Linked DNA regions of Homo sapiens: region 2 is linked to region 1. The links are contacts of gene promoters, found by promoter capture Hi-C in human tissues and cell types (Jung and others, 2019). All regions are on one chromosome and are shown on one strand. The core of a region is centred on a gene start or on the middle of the fragment in contact, and the rest is flanking DNA. Distances in the headings are between cores, read along the strand shown. Region 1 holds the start of XXYLT1 (xyloside xylosyltransferase 1). Region 2 overlaps OPA1 (OPA1 mitochondrial dynamin like GTPase).

The links. The method cuts DNA at HindIII sites, captures the fragments that hold promoters and counts their contacts. A contact is called where the count stands out against the background at its distance.
Region 2: a fragment that was not itself captured here is called in contact with the fragment with the promoter of XXYLT1 in region 1 in 1 of the 25 tissues and cell types used here (dorsolateral prefrontal cortex).

Annotation. Positions count from the first base shown.
Region 1 is chr3:195,267,279-195,274,244 of GRCh38, forward strand. XXYLT1 (xyloside xylosyltransferase 1) reads right to left here and starts at 3,881. Exons shown (of 4, transcript NM_152531.5): 1 at 3,277-3,881. The coding sequence starts at 3,780. RefSeq lists an enhancer at 3,120-3,911 and silencers at 3,162-3,341, 3,502-4,031, 4,282-4,511. The HindIII fragment of the contact is 18,362 bases long and covers 1-6,966 here.
Region 2 is chr3:193,668,106-193,675,071 of GRCh38, forward strand. All of the region lies in intron 29 of OPA1 (OPA1 mitochondrial dynamin like GTPase), which reads left to right. LOC102724808 (a long non-coding RNA gene) reads right to left here. Exons shown (of 5, transcript XR_924835.3): 3 at 2,703-2,789; 4 at 815-939. Among named protein-coding and RNA genes, the nearest start is that of OPA1-AS1, 44 kb to the left of the region's middle. The HindIII fragment of the contact is 3,525 bases long and covers 163-3,687 here.

The sequences.
Region 1 (6,966 bases), core at 2,631-5,130:
CAGACAGTTCTAACACCACTCAAATCAATTCTCCCTGGGAATAAACTGCCCCCTGGACTTTACAAGACAGAAGTGCTCCTTAAAGGGGAAATACAGCACAAAGGGAACAGCACTGACCTAGGATGCAGGTCCAGCCACAACTGAGTAACTTCTCCAGAAAGCCTTGGGCGAGTTTCCTCACCTGTCATGCTATATACTCCAAATCCCTTCCAGCTCTGGCACAGCCAGAGTGAGAAATTCTAGTTTCCTTCTTCCGAGTCAATACTGAAAAAACAATTCCAGTATAAAATTCCCTCATCTGTCAGGTGCTAGGGAGGCAGCATTTAAGACACGTCAATGTCAGTGCCCTTAAGGAGTTTAGAGTCTAGCAAGGAAGACAAATAATTACTCCAACGATTATATAAATACAACTGTGATAAATGTTACTAAGGAACAGTGCTTGGAGTTTGAAAGTGTGTAATGGGGGCTCAGGAAAGGTTTACCAAGGAAAGAACACCAAAGCCGAGACCTGAAAGCTGAGTACCAAGGATGGAGGCAGGGAGAACTCCAGACAGAGGAAAGGCATGTGACATATGTTCTTTTCAGGAATATTCCAAACCTGAGGAAGAATTAAATCACAAGTAAAATGAAGCAAACCTTTTAGAATCGCACATTTAAAGGAAAAAAAGAGCACTTTTCATCACAAACAGAAAAATTTACAAAATATGAACTCAAAAATCATGGGAATGCCAGGTGCAGTGGTGTGTGCCTGTAATCCCAGCTATGCAGGAGGCTAAGGCAAGAGAATTGCTTGAGCTCAGGAGTTCAAGACCAGCCTGGGCAACATAGCAAGAATTCTTATCAAAAACAAAACAAAACAAAGTAACGGAGGCCAGGCGCGGTGGTTCACGCCTGTAATTCCAGCACTTTGAGAGGCCAAGGTGGGTGGATCACCTGAGGTCAGGAATTTGAGACCAGCCTGGCCAACATGATGAAACCCCATCTCTACTAAAAATACAAAAAATTAGCCGGGCGTGGTGGCGGGCGCCTGTAATCCCAGCTACTCAGGAGGCTGGGCCAGGAGAATCACTTGAACCTTGGAGGCAGAGGTTGCAGTGAGCCGAGATCACACTGTTGCACTCCAGCCTGGGCGACAAGAGCAAAACTCTGTCTCAAAAAAAAAAAAACAAAAAATTTAGCCAGCGTGGTGGTGGGCACCTGTAATTCCAGCTACTCGAGAGGCTGAGGCAGAATCGCTCGAACCCAGGAGGCAGAGGTTGCAGTGAGCTGAGATCGTGCCACTGCACTCCAGCCTAGGCAACAAGAGCGAAACTCCATCTCACAAAAAAAAAAAAGAAGTAACGGGAGCAATTTTATGCCAGGACTGATAACCCCTTATCCAATCACTGACATCTGGCTAGAAGTCCCCAGACACTAAACCCTCACCCCTCAACAGAGGAGGTATCAGTTCCCTCTGGTCATTTGCAGCTGCCTCCAGGCCTTGAGTGAGGCTGCCAGAACTGGGCCCAGTAAAGTGGGGTAGTCCGAGCATGAAACACTTACTCCAAGACAGGAGGGGCTCGGCCCTGAGGCTGGATCTACCCCTGGGCCAATATTTCTGGTGCCAACTAAGAGTGCCAGGCATTGTACATAGGGATGGATGATAAGACATGATACAGTCACAGCACCAGGGAAGTAGAAAAGGAAAGAAGGGACGCTTCCTTGGCTCCAAGGAGGGGATGGTATCTGAAGATGGGCAAGACTTGGAGATGGAGAGAAGGAGCACCCCAACAGTGGGAATGACAAAAGCAAAGGCAAGTAGGCTGGAAAGCACTGGCTGTGCAGCTAGCGCTGCAGCGGGAGCTGGGGACAAGGGGACAGAGATCCGGCAACGGTGCAGAGTAGGCCCAGAAGAGATGACAATGCTATCTTCAAGGCGGTGTTTGGAGACCTGGTCAAATCCCAAGATCTGCCCAGACTGACCCTATGGCCAAGGGCCCTCAGTTTTCTACCGTGAACTAGTGCAAAGTTTCTCAAATATTAGGGTCATTAGGATCACCTGGGACAGGTTGCCAGGCTCCTCCTCCAGCGAGGACCTTCAGAGGTCCCAGGGTCTAGGGACTTTCTCAGGAGAGGTGAAAGCTGAGTAAAGAATGGCCAAGGGCCCAAGAGGACACTGTGGGCAGACAGTACAGCATGTATAAGGCCCACTCCCTACATAGCTAAGGTATGAGGTGCATGTAGACAAAGGAGGAGAGGTGAAGCCAGAGAAGTGGACCAGGCTCACAACACAACAGCCCTACCAATAAACTGGGACTTCACCCCGTAGGCAACAAGGAGCTATCAGAGACTCCCGAAGCCTGTAGGATCCTGGCAACAGCTCCCCTAGTCACTCACATAATACAACTCCTGTCTCAGCATGCTTCCCCAACCAACATCAGTCTCCACCCTTTAATATTACCTACTACTCCTTAAAATCTGGCCTCGGATCCCCTCTGTACAACTATTAGGTCAAAATCAAATAAGCAATTTGACCTAGGCAATTCACACTATGTCAGAAACACATCTCAGACAAGGAGAGCCAGGCAGTGAAGACAGATGATAAACAGAGATGGAAGCTGTCATGGAGGCAGACTGGTCCAGCCTGGGACAAGGCGGCCAGCTGTGCTCTCCCCAGATCATATCTGTTCCTCTTGAGCTTTCTCTTCCTCATTCGGAGGAACTCCAGGCTTCTCTAAATGGGTTCATGACCCTTGGAGGAAGGGGAAAAAGGGACACAGAGAGGAGATAAGATGGTTCACAATGAGTTTGACCAGATCCTACTGAAATACCTTAAGAGCAATGAGAAGTGTCACTGCAACTTCAACACTTCCAGAGGCCTCACCAAGGCCCTCTCCAGTTGCTCAGGATGACTACTGGTGACCAGTCCCATCCTCAGAAGTCAAAAACTGAGGAACATAAACAGAGGTGCAGACTCTGAAGGCAGTGCTGAACCCTGCAACGTTAGCAAAATGGGGGCGCGCGGACTCTCCTGGGGGCTGCGCTTAACTGGGGGAGAGGAAAACGAGGCGGTCATTAAAAACGCAGCTCCACTCCTCAGCACCAGCTGAGGGCGTCTGGCTCCCGGACACGCCCCCGAACGAGCCCTCCCGCAGGTTGTGAACACTACATTGCAAGCGGGCAGCTCAGGGAAGATCCTACCCGCTAGTTCCCCGGATCCCCTCCGGGAGCGCAAACTGACCTCGCCTAGGATGGGGTGGGCCACCCACCGGGAGCCCCCAGCCGCGGCCCGCTCACCTTGCACTTGAAGCCAGCGGCGGGCGGCAGGAGCTCCCGCAGCAGGCCCTTGGCCACCTCGCGGCTGGCCTCCTCGCTCACGAAGTGAAGGTTAAGCACCTCGTGCGCCTCGAACTTGGCGAGGCGCAGCAGTGAGCGCAGCGCGACGCGGGCCTTGGCCTGCAGCGCGGCATTGTGCTCCGCCTTGGTGAACATCATCAGCAGGTGGTAGTCCACCGGCCCGGCACCGCCGCCCTCCAAGCTCTTGGCCTTCGCGCCGGGGGCTGGCGCCACGGAGCCCCGCGCTAGCTCCAGCGCGGGCGGCGAGGGCGCGGCGGGAGCCCCGGCGCGGGCCTCCTTCAGCCTCTTGGTGGCGCTGGAGAAGGTCTCCCGGCCTGAGCCGAGGTAGTAGAAGGCGCAGACGGCCAGCGCCGCGGCCAGCAGCAGGGCGCAGTAGTGGGAGCGCACAGCGCCCAGGCGCGCCATGGCCCGAGCGCATGGGAGCCCGCCTCGGAGGAGGCCCATGCGCTACGAGACCGCGGCGCCAGCGGTGCCAGCAACGCGGGAGAGCCCTCGGGTACCCGGACGCCGGCGGCCACTTAGCCCCGGCGCCAGGCGGCGGCCATGAAAGGGGCGGGGCCGCGCCGCCTGGAGCCAATCGCGGGCGCCGGTGCGCGGAGGGGCGGGGCCGGGCGTGCCGAAACCGCTGGGTCCTAGGTTCCAAGGGTATTAGAGGAGGGGTTAGGGTGGGATCCGGCGCCCGGCGTTGGGAGGGGGGGATTCCGGACTCCAGCGTGCTGAGGGCTGGCCCGCTGTCCCGGCTGAGAAATGGCGCCCTACGCGGCGAGCCCCAGAGGATATCCAAGCTGAGTGTTGAAGGGAATGGAGGCGCCCGAACAGAGGAACTTAGGTTAGCCAAAAGCGAAGCTGGAGGCACCAAGAGGTAAAACTTTAATCTCTGCACCTTTTTTCCCTCAATTTCTTGGAGGCTTTAAGCCGTCTCGGCCTCTCCCTGCACACGAGCTGCAGCTAGGCAATTTAAACCGGCAGCTCCTCCCTTTTCCCCCGCCCTGGGAGGAAATGGCCCGGGCCGCACGTCGCGCCGGAGGCCGAGCGGAGGGAGGCTGGAGGATGTGGCCAGCAGGGGGCCCCCGCCGCCCGCACGAACCTGCGAGGCTGCTCCCCGAGCCCCAGCACCGCAAAGCCCTGGAGGGCGACATTCATCCACTTTTGTTTTATAAACAGACTTTTAACACTTTATCAAGAGCCTCCTTGAGGGTACCAGGGAGTTTTGCACGCCGAGGTCACGTGCCCAAAGTCACACAGCTAGCCAGTAGCAATTTTGACCCTAGGCAGTTGCACACTGCTAACTAGATAAAAACGTACTAACTTCAGTCTTCTAAGAATTGAGGCTATACCAGTAGTTTTTAAGTAAACACGTGCAAGTGCTGTGCATGCTGTCTAAATAGACAAAGAACTTGAGTAAGTACAGTAACCCTTCAGTTCTTTGGCCAAGTTCTCTGATTTCTGACCAGAGATTAGGTAAACGGTTTTTCCTGTTATTTCCACATTGTAAGGTTGCATGGATTATCCAACCTCTCTGCTTCAGACCTTGGCTTACATGTCACTACCTACACAAATGATCTCTAAATACCTCCTATCCAGTGTCTGGGCTAAGTGCCATCCTCAATAATTCTGTGAGGGCCACCTAAATATATGTACTACCCTAGTCTCATCTTTCTTCATTGCAAGAACACGTGACTCCAAGAGAACAGAATATACATTTGTTTTTTATTAACCACAATATACCCAGTACCTAACACGGTGCCTACCACATTGGATGAGTCTCAAAAATATACTCAACCATTGAAACAGCATTTTTATTTCTAGAAAATCTTCCTAATAATTTAAGAATGTTCAAAATATTTAACCATAAGAATAAAGCAAGGCCAAGCATGGTGGCTTAGGCCGGGAATGGTGGCTCACGCCTGTAATCCTAGCACTTTGGGAGGCCGAGGAGGGCAGATCACCTTAGGCCAGGAGTTCGAGACCAGCCTGCCCAACATGGCGAAACCCCGTCTCTACTAAAAATACAAAAAATTAGCCAGACATGGTGGCGGGCGCCTGTAATCCCAGCTACTCAGGAGGCTGAGGCAGAAGAATCGCTTGAACCTGGGAGGTGGAGGTTGCAGTGAGCCGAGATCATAACACTGCACTCCAGCCTGGGCGACAAGAGCAAAACTCTGTCTCAAAAAAAAAAAAAAAGTAGGCAGTGTGGTGGCGGACACCTGCAATTCCAGCTACTCGAGAGGCTGAGGCAAGAGAATCGCTTGAACCTAGGAGGCAGAGGATGCAGTGAGCCGAGATCATAACACTGCACTCCAGCCTGGGCGACAAGAGCAAAACCCTGTCTCAAAAAAAAAAAAAAAGTAGGCAGTGTGGTGGCGGACACCTGCAATTCCAGCTACTCGAGAGGCTGAGGCAAGAGAATCGCTTGAACCTAGGAGGCAGAGGATGCAGTGAGCCGAGATTGTGCCTCTGTACTCTAGCCTGGCGAAAGAGAGCGAGACCCTGTCTCAAAAAACAAACATAAAAATAAAGCAAAGCTAGGTTCATGATGGCAAAAAATCAGAATCAAATGGTCATCAATAAAGTGGTTAAAGCTAAAATAATGCAGTCATTAAAAGTGATGTTTTCAACAAACTGCAGGTGGAAATTTAAAAAACTAACAAATGGGTGAGGTGGCTCATACCCGTACTCCAAGCTATGTGGGAGACTGAGGTGGGAGGATCACTTGAGCTCAGGGGTCCAAGGCTGCAGTGAGCTACGATCGCCACAGGACTCCAGCCTGGATGACAGTGCGAGACCCCAATTCCAAAAAAAAAATAGTAATGGTAACAAATGGAAAAAAAAACCTACAGAGACTAAGAAACATATTCACCAACTGCAACGTATGGAACTTATGTGAATTCTGATTTGCACGATCTATTTTAAAAATCGTATTTGAGAAACCAATTTGAATATTGATTATGTAGTTTTACAGTTTAAGAAGTGTTACGATTTTTTAAAGTCCTCAACTTTTAGATGTACATACGGAATGATTTGCTGGTGAAAGGTCTAGGATCTGGTTCCAAAAAGTCCAGGAAAGGGGAAAAATGGGTAGGAGAACAAATATAAGCCATGAGCTTATAGCTATTGATTTTCTCTACCTGTACATGCTTGAAATTTCCCATAAAGTTCTCCCCATCTATTAAGTGAAAGAAGTGGGTAACTGTATGATCCCATTATATAAATGTATGAATACACACACCCAAAGGTCTAGAAGGGTATACACAAAAAAGTAACAGTATCTCCCTCAGTGCTATCCAGTAGAACTTCCTGTGACAATGTATATATTCTACAATCTCCCCTGTTCAAAACAATAGTCACTAGCCACATGGGGCTATAAAGTTCTTAAAATGTAGCAGTACGACTGAGGAAATGAACTCTTTGTCTAATTCCAATTAAGTAGCCACATGTAGCTAGTGAGTTCCATTTTGGACAGCACAAGATAATGGAATTGTGGATGATTCTCTTGCTTCTTCTTAACATTTCTCCACAAGCAAAAAGCTTTGTGTTTGCAATAATTGAAAAATTAAACTGTTTTCACTTAAAATATTTATAGACTATTGATGTGGGTTCTCCACAGAACTATTCTGAAAATGAAATGAA
Region 2 (6,966 bases), core at 675-3,174, 1.6 Mb before region 1:
TTATTTATTAAAAACTGTGAGTTGATGCTGATACTTCCCATTTTAATCCAGCATTACAAGGTTTGTTCTAGTGTTCTCCCTTTCGATATTTGTCACTTGCTTTCCTGATAGAAAACGGGCTTCTAGTATCCTTAATATATTTTCATATTTTGGTCAGTCCTCCTATACGTAACCCAACTTGAATGAAGATATGTCCTTTTCCATTGCAGAAATGTTCTTTTTCCCCAGCTCGGACTCAACACTACACACCAGGCCACCACATGGCGCCGCACCCAGCATTGACACTTCTTTTACCTTGTCTGGGCTCTGACATCCGTGCCAGGTTGCTCTTCGTCATGGAGTCCCTTTTACTGAGCTCTGCTCTGACGCTTTGTGCCAGGTGCCTCTCCATCTCATCCTTCCCACCCGCTAGCCTCTGCCCGACCCCAGACAGATTCCTTCCTCACCTGAAGCCAGACCATGCCTTTGTGGAGATACCCTCTTTACCCTGCCTGTGCTTCGCCAGCCTGCACCAGGCCACCCTCCTGCACAGATACTCTCCTCAGTACTGGACCAGGCTACCAACAGCCCCATGTGAACCCATTGTAACCCAGGTCAGGCATTAACACCTGCAGTAGGCTACCATGGCTTCCCCTTCCCACCCCCCTAGCTTGGCCCTACTAATAATCACTTTGTCACTGTTTGGGGTTGATATTTGGTTGTTTCTTGTAGGTTCCTAGCTTTAAGATAGGATTGCATACTAAAATTTACTTAGATCTTTGAGAACTCAAGGAAATCAGTGAAACATTATTGTTATTAAATAAAAATAAAATACCTGTAGTTGGTACCTCTGTTTGAGCCTGCCTTGTTACAAGTTTCACTGACTTCAGCTTCGTGTAACAAAGTATCTTTTTCTTTCAACGTGTACTTAAATTTCCTGTCTTATTAGTTTTCTGATATCTAAAAGGAAAAAAAGCAGATATCGTTAATAAATTAGAAAGAAGTTCTGCAAATTTAAAAGTGCCTTCTAAGCTGAGTTGTAGGATTACAGTACAATCCATAGGGTTATCCTGAAGAAGCCAGGCAGGGCTCTTCTGTGTTACACCCTGTGCCTGCGCAGCATGCTCACCCCTTGCCATCAGCGCTTGCGGCCCCATTCTCTCCCTCTAGTAATAATCTAAGTTCTGCATTGCTTTCTCCTTTCCTTTTCTTTCTTCCTTTAAATATTCTTCTTTCGAGACATATCTCATTTTAACTTTTATTTTCATTTTCTGTCACTTTTGGTTTTTCTCATGCCACCTTGGCAATGTAGTTAAGTTTGTGCTAACGTAGAAGATTAGTGCTCAAATCTGAATTGCCATTTACTACTAGCTGTGTCATCTTCGGCAGGGAATCTCCCAGAGCCTTAGCTTCTTTATTTGTAAAATGACTATTATAGTGGTTATTTCTCAGGATTGTTAGAATTACTTCCGCAAACATTTGCAAGTCCCTGGTTCATAATTTCATGCTAAATTAGTACCGTTACAGGAAGTGGTATATCATTGTCACAGTGTATACAAATATATTTCTTTTATATCCCTCGTGATATAATTATCAAGACAGTGAAACAATTCAATGAATTTTACCAGCATAACACATTTTTAAGTGATTGGAAAATCATAAGTATCTTTTCTTATGTTTTTAGTAGAGGCTTTGCAACCCCATTACTCTCCGCTCCCAATTTGATTATTTAAAGGAAGTGGATTACTAACTCAGATATGTACACTGTCAAGCCAAGTTCTATGTTCTACTGCTGGTTTTCCTGAGAAAGCAGTCATATAACTCCCTTGAAATGATTTACTACTTTTGTACATATAAAATTATAATGGTGTTAATGTACCAAATAATGTCCTTGGAAGCAAGGGTTTTGCCAGTAACTCAGCTGCATCAGTCACCCTCAAGGAGATGAGCCATGACTTTGTTCATTAGTTGGAAAAGAGTCTGGAGAGTGCCTTTTCGTTACTGTTTATCTTTGGTCTGACACTTGGGAATAGGGTCATGGATACTTCAGCCAGAAAACTTTCCAAATTTAAGTTATTAATGTATTATAAGGATCAAAGTTTCTAGTATAGCCTGTTCAATTAGAACATAGTGTGTTGGTTGATTGGATTTGGAGAAAGGGAGGCAATCAAATTTTTACTACAGTTTCAGCCTGTTACAGAATATTGTATAGAGTGTTAAAATGTTGATGCATTCATATTTTTGCCAGTTTTAAGCTTGTACGATTTTAAATCATTTCCTTACCTTGGAGACTTCCCCCCCACCTTTTTTTTTTTTTTTGAGATGGAGTCTCGCTGTGTCGCCCAGGCTAGAGTGCAGTGGCACGATCTCGGCTCACTGCAAGGTGGTTCTCCCACCTCTGCCTCCCGAGTAGCTGGGGCTACAGGCGCCCGCCACCATGCCTGGCTTATTTTTTGTATTTTTAGTAGAGACGGGGTTTCCCCATGTTAGCCAGGATGGTCTCGATCTCCTGACCTCATGATCCGCCCGCCTCGGCCTCCCAAAGTGCTGGAATTATAGGCATGAGCCACCATGCCCAGCCCTGACTGCCCTTTAAGATGAGTACATAAGTAGTAGTAGTACATTTTTCTTTCACATCCTGGAGAAGATATACTGTGTTCACTATTGAAATGAAACCATAAAGCTAGAGTTAGGAAGATTGAAGAAATGAAAAAGGAGCTCACATGATTTTGTCTCAGGAGAGGCTCTTCCAGGATTCTTTGGAGATATGGTAGATTCCATAGCTGGAGCAGGGAAAGGACAGGATGAGCCTGTGGGTGTAGAAAGGAAGGGAGTGCTTGAAAGATGATGAGGAGATGTCAGCAGGTCACAGAAACCCTCTGAAGGAGGCTCCAACTGGCCAGGCTGGGGACAATTTGGGCCCCAAAATAATGACAGTAACAAATTGTAACTCATTGAATGAAATAGGAATCCATACATTGGTAATTATATAAATAAGGGAATAAAACCATGATGCAAAAAGGGATGTTTATGTCATCACGCAAAATATGTTCACAGAAAATATGTACTAATTAAAAGAGGGAAAAGAGTAACTTTACAGTGGATGAAGCCTGGCAATCATCACTTTAAGCAAGTGGTCAGAGTTAATATTATCAGTAATGGTCAAATCAAAACCATATGCAAGAAGACTCTAAAATGCAAGAAGACTCCTGAAGTACTTCTTACCAAAGATGTAGAACTTAAATTCAGTCATAACAATACATGAGACAAACCCAAGTTAGAGCACAGTCTGCAAAATAACTGGCCTGTAATCTTCAAATGCATCAAGATCATGAAAGACAAGGAAAGAGTGAAGAGCTGCTCCAGTTGGAAGAGACTTAAAACTAAATGCAATGTATGATCCTAGATTGGATCTTTTTGCTCTAAGGACATTAATGGGCCAGTTAGTGATATTTGAAGGGGATCCGAGGGTTCCATTGTAGTAATATATCAGTGTTAATTTTTAAATTTTTATTAGGTTGGGATTATTTTGGAAAATACCATTATTCATAGCGAATACAAAGTAGAATATTTGGGGATGATAATGCATGATTACAACAAATGTTTCAGGAGAAATATGATCTTTGTAGTGGTCTTGCAACTTTTCTGTAAGTCTGAAATTGTTTATGCATAAAAGGTTAAAAAAAGGTTAAATTTTGTTTTTATAACTAATAATGGATTAGGGTCATGTGAAAGTACTTTAGAGGAAATGAGACTTTTGAGAACATCATCCCTGAAGACGTTGAAACACTGAGTTACCTCATGGATAATTTAATAGGATATGCAGCTGATTTTTCTACCTTAATTTCTTGTTTGCAGTATCTACCCATACTTAGAATTGTCTGGTGTTAAAATATGCCCACTGGGACTTTCATGAAATTCTTTTGATTTTCTAGAAAATTCAGTTTCAAAGGATTTTTTAAATAGATATTTTAAGTTTGGTGTCAACTTAGATAAAATCTGTTTGGAGTCCCAGTGTAAGTTTTAGTAATGTGTCCAATCTGTTTATTGAAATAGTATAACTTTAGAATACTTTCTTTGGAGAGATGAAGATTGGTATGTTATAGTTCAATTCAAAGTTGTTCTTTCTATTATGATCTATTTTATAATTCATAAAATCTATCTTATGATTGTCATCATAAGTGCAATTTGTTTTTTGCCCCATTCTACCTCAGAAACTAAGTATCTGGGCATCAATAACAATTGGTAGTAGTGTTTGCTGCTAAGCCAAGTTTCACCAGTACAGTGTGGAATTATTTTATTGTTTTTTCTGTGAACATTGTATCTGCTGTTACTAGGTTATTGTGAGGTATTGGGCCTTCATAGAAATTGCCTGGAACCCTTGTTCACTAAAGCCTGTTACACTTTTTATTCTCTGTGCGTGTAATCAGAGACTTATTGATACTGACACATTCAAGGGGCATTATTGATCATTTAGATTGCTCTAAGACCTAAGGAGTCTTGGCCGGATGCGGTGCCTCACGCCTGTAATCCCAGCACTATGGGAGGCCGAGGCGGGTGGATCACCTGAGGTCAGGAGTTCGAGATCAGCCTGGCCAACATGGTGAAACCCCGTCTCTACTAAAAATGCGAAAATTAGCTGGGCATGGTGGCAGGCGCCTGTAATTCCAGCTACTCGGGAGGCTGAGACAGGAGAATCGCCTGAACCCGGGAGGCAGAGGTTGCAGTGAGCCAAGACTGTGCCATTGCATTCCAGCCTGGGTAACAGAGCGAGACTCCATCTCAAAAAAAAAAAAAAAACGAAAAACAAAAACCTAAGGAGTCTTTTCTCCTTATTTTACAATAAATTCCTTTTGATTTTGTGTAAAAACTTGAAACTGTTTATGAATGTAAAATAACATTTGAATACTTTTCTTGTGCCAGATATTAGGTTAAATGCTTTATGTGAATTTTCATTTGATTCTCACAACTTTTGAGTTAGGTAGTTATTTTTCTCATTTTACAGATGAAATGGAGGGTTAGGAACTCGTAGGTAGTAGATGCTGAAGCTGAGATTTGGGCCTGGGTCTTTTCACTACTGTGCCAGAATCATTTGGGAGGGAGTAAAAACTCAAGCCTTTGGAAAATATGATGACATAAAATTGTCCTTTATATTGAGAAGCTTCCATAGTTACCAGTGTCCTTCACAGGGTTGATCGGAAAGACATACATGTTAGTGATGATGATAATGATGAAGATAATCATTATTACCACAGGTACTTCCTATAATATAAGCATCTTTCAAATTGTATGAGAACTTTCATAGAACATCTGAGTAAATGAACAGTACAGTGTGCATGAAACCACTAAGCAAACCAAGGGAAGTTAATTTTCTTTATATGAATTGTAAACATGTCTCTAGATATCCTTTATCAGATTCCACCATGCGTAAGTAGTGTCTAAGTTGCCCCATATTTAGAGTTTTTCAATGAGGTTGTGTTCCTACTTAGAATCCTAAAGTTCAGCTATAACAGATATATTAATAAAATCTGTGGAATCTTTAATTGAGCATAATGGTGGCTGTTATTTTAACTTGAGGCTTTTTGTTGAGCTGGATTGGAAGTGCAACTTATTAGAAATTACAGTGTATTTATTCCTATTTCTTGTTCTTTATGTGAGAGAAGATATACTTTAGTAGACTGAATACTTCAGAGCTGTATCTCATTTACCAATAAAATGTGAAAACAGTGGTAAATTCCTTCACTTGGGCTACCATTGTACAGGCCTATTTTAATGGTATAGTTTGATATCCTTAATGTTAAAAGCAATATAGCTTAAAGAGGCTGGTAAATTAGAATTTTCCAATATCCTCAGCTTTTTTTCCTCTCACAGTTAATTTGCTCTGCTGACTCCCTACGCGAGGTGGCAACAGCTGGCCCTTTTACTGGAGCTTGTGGGGATTAGAGAGTCGGGCTCGCAGCAGCGTGCTCGGCCTCTTGCCTCTGTTGACTGTTCTTTATTGTTTGATGCCTGAGCATCTCCCAGACAGCGAGCAATTGTTTCTGGAAACTTAAAGTTTGTTTCTCTTGGGAGTAGACAATGCTTTTGGGGCTTGTCTTTGTGTTTCTTCACTTTCCCAGTCTCCTCTTATCCTTCATCCTGTGCTTTCTCTTGATAATTAGAAAGGAGCAAAGATACCACCTTTTTATTTAGGTCTGCATGAGATTCTAAAACTTAGAAGTATAGGCTATAGATGAAAGTTTCTTTTTTCAGTAAGCCACCTCAGTAACAAATCATGTTTTAAATGAAAACTTTGTTCTTCATAATATCATTTAGTGAGAGAAAACAAATGCATGAGTGCATTTTTGAAATTATGGTACTAAAAGGGAGCAGCAGCAAGGTGACCTAATACTGCCATTTTAAAAGCTAGGATTAGAAATGTATCATAACTGCTTAAATCTAAAAAGATTCTTTCACTGAATCCAAAATATAGTTCTAATTTATAGGATAGTTATAAGAAATCTCTATGCCATGTGGAAACATGAATAAAAAGTAGTCAGAACATAGCTAAATAGAACCCTGAGGTAGGCAGAATGATTTTATTCTTCACATTTAGAAAAGAAAACATCAAGGTACCCTGGAACTTAATTTCTACAGTGACTTCACATTCCGACACTTCTCCCATACCTGCCATACCCTTGAGTGTTGTTACGGATGAGAATATCGTCTGTGAAGTAGTATGAGATGGAAATTTTCCTAGAAAGATTATTGTACTCGGAATTTGGAACTGAAAAGTGTAGAAAGGGGAAGTGATGTGTTTAAAACTGTTTGCGGAGGTGGGGCTCTGCCATGTGTATTTTGACAAAGCTACACAGGTGATTCTTGCCATCCCCGATTACCGTGTACCCGCCTGCCCCTGAGCTGGCACTCCAAAGAGTTCTTTCAGTGCATAGCAAGACAATTTTTCATGCTATTAATTGGGATAAAATTGACATACATTCATTTGTA